Regions from separate parts of the Homo sapiens genome. Here region 2 is linked to region 1. Evidence: promoter capture Hi-C in 16 types of primary human blood cells and fetal thymus (Javierre and others, 2016). All regions are on one chromosome and are shown on one strand. Each heading gives the region's core, a stretch centred on a gene start or on the middle of the fragment in contact. The rest is flanking DNA. Distances are from core to core; before and after follow the strand shown.

Region 1 (3,161 bases), core at 628-3,127:
AATATATGAGCAATATAATCAAGAGTACAGTGTCCAAGAGAACAGAATCAATTTTAGCTGATTCTGTTCTCATGAACAGAACTTTTGAAATTTATTATAACTGTTCATTTTTTTACCTGATAAAGAATATTTTTTTCCTGCTACCAGATGAATGATTAAGCCAGCTTCAATCGTTTTTTGAAAAGGTACAGAAAATTTCTTACTTTAGAAAAACATATTAACATAATTTTAAAGAATGAATTAATAAAAACTATCATCATTTTGTCTTATGAGAGGAACACAGGTCCAGCTCCCTGACAGAATATCAAATTAATGGCAATAATTTCATACCATTAATTGGAAATTAAATTCATAATGATTAATACATAAAAACAAAAAGAACTGCTGCCATTTATTAAGCAGCCATGCATTTTAGAATGTACATCTTAAGAATGTAGGTCTTATGTGCTTTTTTATCGATAAGGAAGTTGTACTCAGAGAAATTAGGTAAATTGCCTTAGGTCACAAAGTTCTGAAGAGAGTTGGGATTCGCAGCCATGCCTGTCTGATGTAAATGTCAGGGTTCTAGTTGACACTGCTTCTAGTTGTAGGGAATGTTTCCCATTTAATAGAGCAACTACAATGGTTGATTCCCTTCAATAATAACTTCTTATCAGGCAACCACTGTCACATTCAGGATTTCATTCCACCGAATTCCTATGCATTCAAATGTAAAAGAGGCTAGTGAAGAAGTAGGTCACATGAACCAATCTTTCCACCACCAACGAAAGCACTGCCCAGACTCCTGGGATGCCCTACTCTGGTATTTTCGTATCATTTTACCCAAGAATTGAAAAAAATGTCTGCTCAGATCCTTTGAATTCAACACCTTACCCACCACTTTCTTTCACTTCAAGCAAGGTCTGATTTGCACTAACTAGTAGGAGGTCACCATCTCTTAAGTGATTCCTCCCAGACTATTTTAGCTCTCAGGGACAGCCAGGGCCCTCAACGATTCCCTAAGCATCTCTGGGAAAGTTTACACATTACGCTGTTACAAGCAATTCATGTATGTGTGCATAGTGAAAACCTTTTCTCTTAAAACTCTTAATACTGAAGTTCCCCAAACCTTTGGAAAATGTACAAGTCACAGATGCTCCTGTGACTTGTTTTTCCCTTCGGGTGCGTCCTCAACCTTGCTTAAATAAACCTCTATTGAACGAGACCTGCATCAGTCACTTTTCGGTTAACACTAGGTATTCAACGAATAGACTAGTCCCGCCGTTGTCTCCAGATATGATGGTGCCCTGACCCAAAGAAGCGAGATACTCCTTCCCAGGGCCTCGCTCCCGAGCATGGGTTATTTGCACAAAACCCCGCAGGAAGCTTTTAGAGCCACAGTCGGCTAGGCTGGAGTCAGACTCTGTTACCTCCTGACTCTGCCATCACGAGCAAGGAGCCTGCTTCCTCATTGGCAAAAGGGAATGACCAAGGCACCACCTTACAGGGTTGTGGCAACGGGCTCATGGAATTATACATGCCAAGTGGTTATCACAGGGCCCGCCACTGGCGGAAGGTGAGACAATGTGGACGGCGAGGAAATGGGAGCATCGGCTGGAAACCAGGGACGGAGATCGGGGATGGGGGGCGGGCAAGGGGACAGCGGAAAGGGTGGGCGAGGGATCCGTGTCCCAACCCGCCGAGTCGCAGCTCTGCCCCTGCGAGCTTCCGCCGAGACCGCCCCCCGGGAAGCCGCGTTTCCTTCCTGCAGTCGCGGTCCGGCGTGGGGCACGGAGGGGCTCGCGCTCCCAGAAGCCGGCAGGCCTTCCCGCGGGCGGGCCCGCAGCGCGCTCCGCCCCGGAAACACGCCCATGGCCGCCTTGGCGCGCTTTCAAACGCTCAGGTTTCCTACCTTCCGGCTGCTTGGGAACTTCTTTCTTGCCCGCCAAGCCCGCAGCCACCCGGGCGCGGCGGGACTCCTAGACCCGGCGCTGCGATGAAGAGGACCCGCGACGAGGTGGATGCGACGCTGCAGATCGCCAAGCTGAATGCGGCCGAGCTGCTGCCGGCGGTGCACTGCCTGGGCTTCGGCCCTGGGGCCAGCGGCGCTGCAGCCGGCGACTTCTGCCTGCTGGAGCTGGAGCCCACGCTGTGCCAGCAGCTGGAGGATGGACACAGGTGAGCCCTGGTCACGCGGCGCCCCCAGCCTCTGGCCGGCCACGTTATTTTCTCAGCGGGGAAAGTCGGGATAAGAAAACAGGGCCAGAGAGATGCACTGACCTGGCCGGGGGCTCATAGCAAGCTGCCTGTTCCCGAGGAGTCCACGCCTCCGGTGGGCCGTCCAGTTAGCTGCACTGCGGTGATGAGTAGCACTGGTCCAGCTGACCTTGGAGGCATGTGTCAGCGGGAGCAAGTCAGGAAATACTAATACAACCTCCGTGAAGTTTTTGAAGAGTTACCGGTGATTACAGGGACTCTACAGGACACCTGTCACTCTACCTTAAAATACAGTGGTGATACCCAATGTTTATAGAACTCTTGCCTTCCACTTATATTTATTTTACTCAGATGATAGATAGGAAGTGCTGGGAATCAGCTTACAGACTTGGTAATTGGGTGAGACCCCTACCCACCCCGAAGCAAACTTGCTTAGTAGGGATCTGAAGCTGTTTCTAATTCCAGGTCAGATACAAACTTGCTGCAAGATCATTGATTAGAAGTCGAAGTTGAGGTAGTTTTTTAAAGGCAGTCTTGAGAAGTCTAGAGAATCGTTATATCCCTCCACCCTGTGCAGCCCCAGCTCCTGCAAAATAGGGAGCTCCAGCTTGATTCTCTTTTGCACAATTGGTCCTCCGACACCTATATTTTATTAGGCTATTTTTTCTCTTTTTTCTTAATGGAATCCTTTAGGCTGTCTTTCAGTTTTCGTACTTTGCCCACCAAAGAGTGTTAGAGTAAACTGGCCATTCTTCAGATACCTGCTATATACCTCAAAGTACCTTTAAGGGAACTGAAAGAACTTCACTAGTCTGTTTCCATCCCGGTTCAGTTGGTGGAGAGTTGAGAAAGGAACTCAGGTGTGAGGACTTTCTCTCGGTCCAGTTCTAGTTAATCTAGCTGGCAAAAACAAAACAAAACAAAAACAAAAAAATAAAAACAGGCCCTGGAAACGTGTGTTTTTA
Region 2 (3,154 bases), core at 266-2,765, 3.1 Mb after region 1:
CTCATCATTCCAGCTACCTAGTGGTAGGCAAAAACCTCCAGTCTGGTTCTTCCATGCGAGATTTTCTTTCTTCTTTTTGTGAATGTTCTGTTACCAATTTCTAGTGTAATTTTACCAGGATCAACCTTTAAAACCTCTAAATTTGTGGACTTTCTGTGTGACCTAGGGTTTGGTGTATTTTAATAAATATTTCATATACACTTGAAATGAGTGGATATTAACTTTTCATTTTGTAGTGTTAAGAATTTGTAACATGTAACTATTTCTCCTCCCAGATTGAAATATAACACCAGATCCCAATGACAAAACAACAAAAAACTTCAGGGCAGGATATGCCGTTTATTGATTTAATTATTTCATCAGTTCTGTATACATATTTATTGAATAAACATTTCAAAAATAAGGGATAGGAAAAAAGTCATTTGGAAGTAGAAAAGAATGTTTCAAATTACTTATCTAAAATGGCTTCTTACAGTTGTCATATATTCTTTTAAGGACTTGAGATGTGTATTTCAGAGTAATGTGTCATAAATCAGCGTGATTTTTAGAAAATATATTCTGTATCATCCTTCAACAATACCTCAGATAACTTCTTTGGTACTTTACTCAGGTAAATCTCTACATGAAGCTAATAGCAAAAGGCTACTATTTCTGGTAATTCTGATAAAAGTTTCTATGTCTTAATTTCTATATAATCTAAGTGGTTACAAGCAGCTATCTAAAATTACGTAAAACAAGCTGTGCAATACTGGCTCATCGCTAATTAACAGAATAATGTCGGACAAATCACTTATCAGTTTTCTAATATGCATAATGCGAGTTAGTACAGCACTTCATTGCAAGATCAGAAATGAAAGCATTTTTACATAAGAGACACTACAGAAATAATGCGAACTGTAATGCTATTATGACGGTTTGCCTAGTGGTGAATGATTAAACATTTAAAAAGTTTACTTTCATCTTAGATCATTCCATCGGAAAGAGGTCGAAAATGTACAGTAGGCATGCACAAAGGATACCGCCTGGAAAGAAGGTAAAACTGGAAAACAGGAGGGAGGCGGGGCCCAATTTTGGCTTCTCCTTCCGTCTCCGCCCCTCGAACGCCGGCCTGCGAGTGACGTCACGCGAGACTTGTACTTCCGCTTCCGGTAACTCACGTTTCTCTTTCTTCCTGTCTGCTTGGAAAGATGGCGTCCCGCAAGGAAGGTACCGGCTCTACTGCCACCTCTTCCAGCTCCACCGCCGGCGCAGCAGGGAAAGGCAAAGGCAAAGGCGGCTCGGGAGATTCAGCCGTGAAGCAAGTGCAGATAGATGGCCTTGTGAGTGCTGTTCTTTTTCCTCTGGCCCACGTGGGGAGCGCAGTTCCCAGCCCCGTCCCACCAGACGTACTTTCTAGCATTCTCCCCCTTGGGCTTGGTGTGGCTGGGCCAAAGTTTTTCCCTAGTACGTTTCTCTTTCATCTTCACTTTTTGTTCAGGAGCTTCGACAGCCTTCTCTTGTCTTCTAACGGGACAGTTGGGGCTTCAGGAAGGGGACTGAGAATAGGGGTGTGAGTGACAGGTTCCTGGGGTCTTGTTTTGAGATGACCGGTGGGGGGATTTGAAGAAAGACTCCTGGAGACCAGCAGCTAACGAAGGTGTCGAGAAGGATTTAGGGACCTAGTAGGGCTCTGGGAAGGAGAGAGTAAGGAAACTCCACTGATTCCCTGCTGGGATCTGACATCTATAACGTTCCAAGTGGAGATGTACTTTGTAGCCACTCTTTTGAGCCTGTACTTCGGCGCTTTATCTGAAACCGTATAATTTAGAATACTCTTTTGTAGTGTTCATTCTGAAAAACATAAAAGAATATCAAAGAGAAGGGCCTTAAATGTATTTAGTAGTTAAGGTTCATGAACTAGGACATCCAAGGAAATTCTTGATAAGGAAATGGACTTAGCTGGGAAGAGGAAAATCTAGAATGAGAAATTTTATTTCTGTTGTTTCGAAGCAAAATGCATTTATATGACGTTCTAGTTTTAAAAGTATCCTTCCTGCCCTCTTTTTAAAAAGCATCCTCTCTTCCTTTGATTTTTTTAAAGGTTATTTCCTATTAATGCAGATCTTAGATATTTGTAATAAGAAAGTACTTTTAAATTCATGTGAAAATTGTAATTGCAAGCAGGTATTTTTAAGTGGAAACTGTTGATAATTTAAACGCAGCATATAATTGAATCTGTTGAACTGACTTAGTTAAACTGGATACAAGAGTGTAGCCTGGTGGTTAAGAGCTCATTCAGTCTTCTAGGCTCTTCCACTTAACCAGCTCTGTGACTTTAAGGCAAGTTAGCCTTTCCAGGCTTTGCTTTCCTCATCTGTCAAGTGGGAATGAGAAGTATCTGTATCATAGAGTTGTTTGGATTAAATGAAAAAGTTTATGTGGTGACCTGTAGTACAGTGTAATCACTTAATGTTAATTATGATTATTATTATGAGTTTAATGTCTGTGGTTAGCAGAGTTTGAAAGATGCAGGCAAGAGATTAACTTTGGAATGTTTTGTTCTAAATGTCACTTGTGTAATACTTTGAAAATGCAGGCCGGGCGTGGTGGCTCACGGCTGTAATCCCAGCACTTTGGGAGGCCGAGGCGGGCGGATCAGGAGGTCAGGAGTTCGAGACCAGCCTGACCAACATGGTGAAACCCCGTCTCTACTAAAAACACAAAATTAGCCGGGCATGTTGGCACGCGCCTGTAATCTCAGCTACTCAGGAGGCTGAGGCGGGAGAATCGCTTGAACCTGGGAGGCGGAGGTTGCAGTGAGCCGAGATTGTGCCACTGCACTCCAGCCTGGGCAATAGAGCGAGCCTCCGTCCAAAAAAAAAAAAGAAAATGGAGTACTATCTGGCCTGTGTACTGGCACTGTGGCTTTCCCTGGCTCATGGGAGGCAGATGTGTGTTCAGGAATAAATGACGTATCTTTAGAGATTGCAAATCTCTAAAGTTAGTGGGTGGACTTAGATTACACTTGTTAAAATAAGTACCACTTATGCACTTGGGAAATGTTTATTTCTTAGAAACATATTTCTTATTAAATTTGCTATGTCACAACAGCACTCTTTGAATCACTTAGTTTCCAGAGTTGAAAAAGGCAACAGGTCGGTGGCATAAATCTATT

The links. Contacts are between HindIII fragments. The CHiCAGO score rates a contact against its expected background, and 5 or more counts as called.
Region 2: a contact is called between a fragment that was not itself captured here and the fragment with the promoter of DSCC1 in region 1, in 1 of 17 cell types (non-activated CD4 T cells). The highest score is 6.7, in non-activated CD4 T cells.

The regions. Positions count from the first base shown.
Region 1 is chr8:119,854,610-119,857,770 of GRCh38, reverse strand. DSCC1 (DNA replication and sister chromatid cohesion 1) reads left to right here and starts at 1,877. Exons shown (of 9, transcript NM_024094.3): 1 at 1,877-2,157. The coding sequence starts at 1,976. LOC105375728 (a long non-coding RNA gene) reads right to left here. Exons shown (of 4, transcript XR_928590.3): 2 at 2,969-3,096; 3 at 1,892-2,365. RefSeq lists a silencer at 1,726-1,785 and an enhancer at 1,896-2,205. The HindIII fragment of the contact is 2,867 bases long and covers 1,368-3,161 here.
Region 2 is chr8:116,753,831-116,756,984 of GRCh38, reverse strand. EIF3H (eukaryotic translation initiation factor 3 subunit H) reads left to right here and starts at 1,162. Exons shown (of 8, transcript NM_003756.3): 1 at 1,162-1,319. The coding sequence starts at 1,188. The HindIII fragment of the contact is 4,157 bases long and covers 1-3,154 here.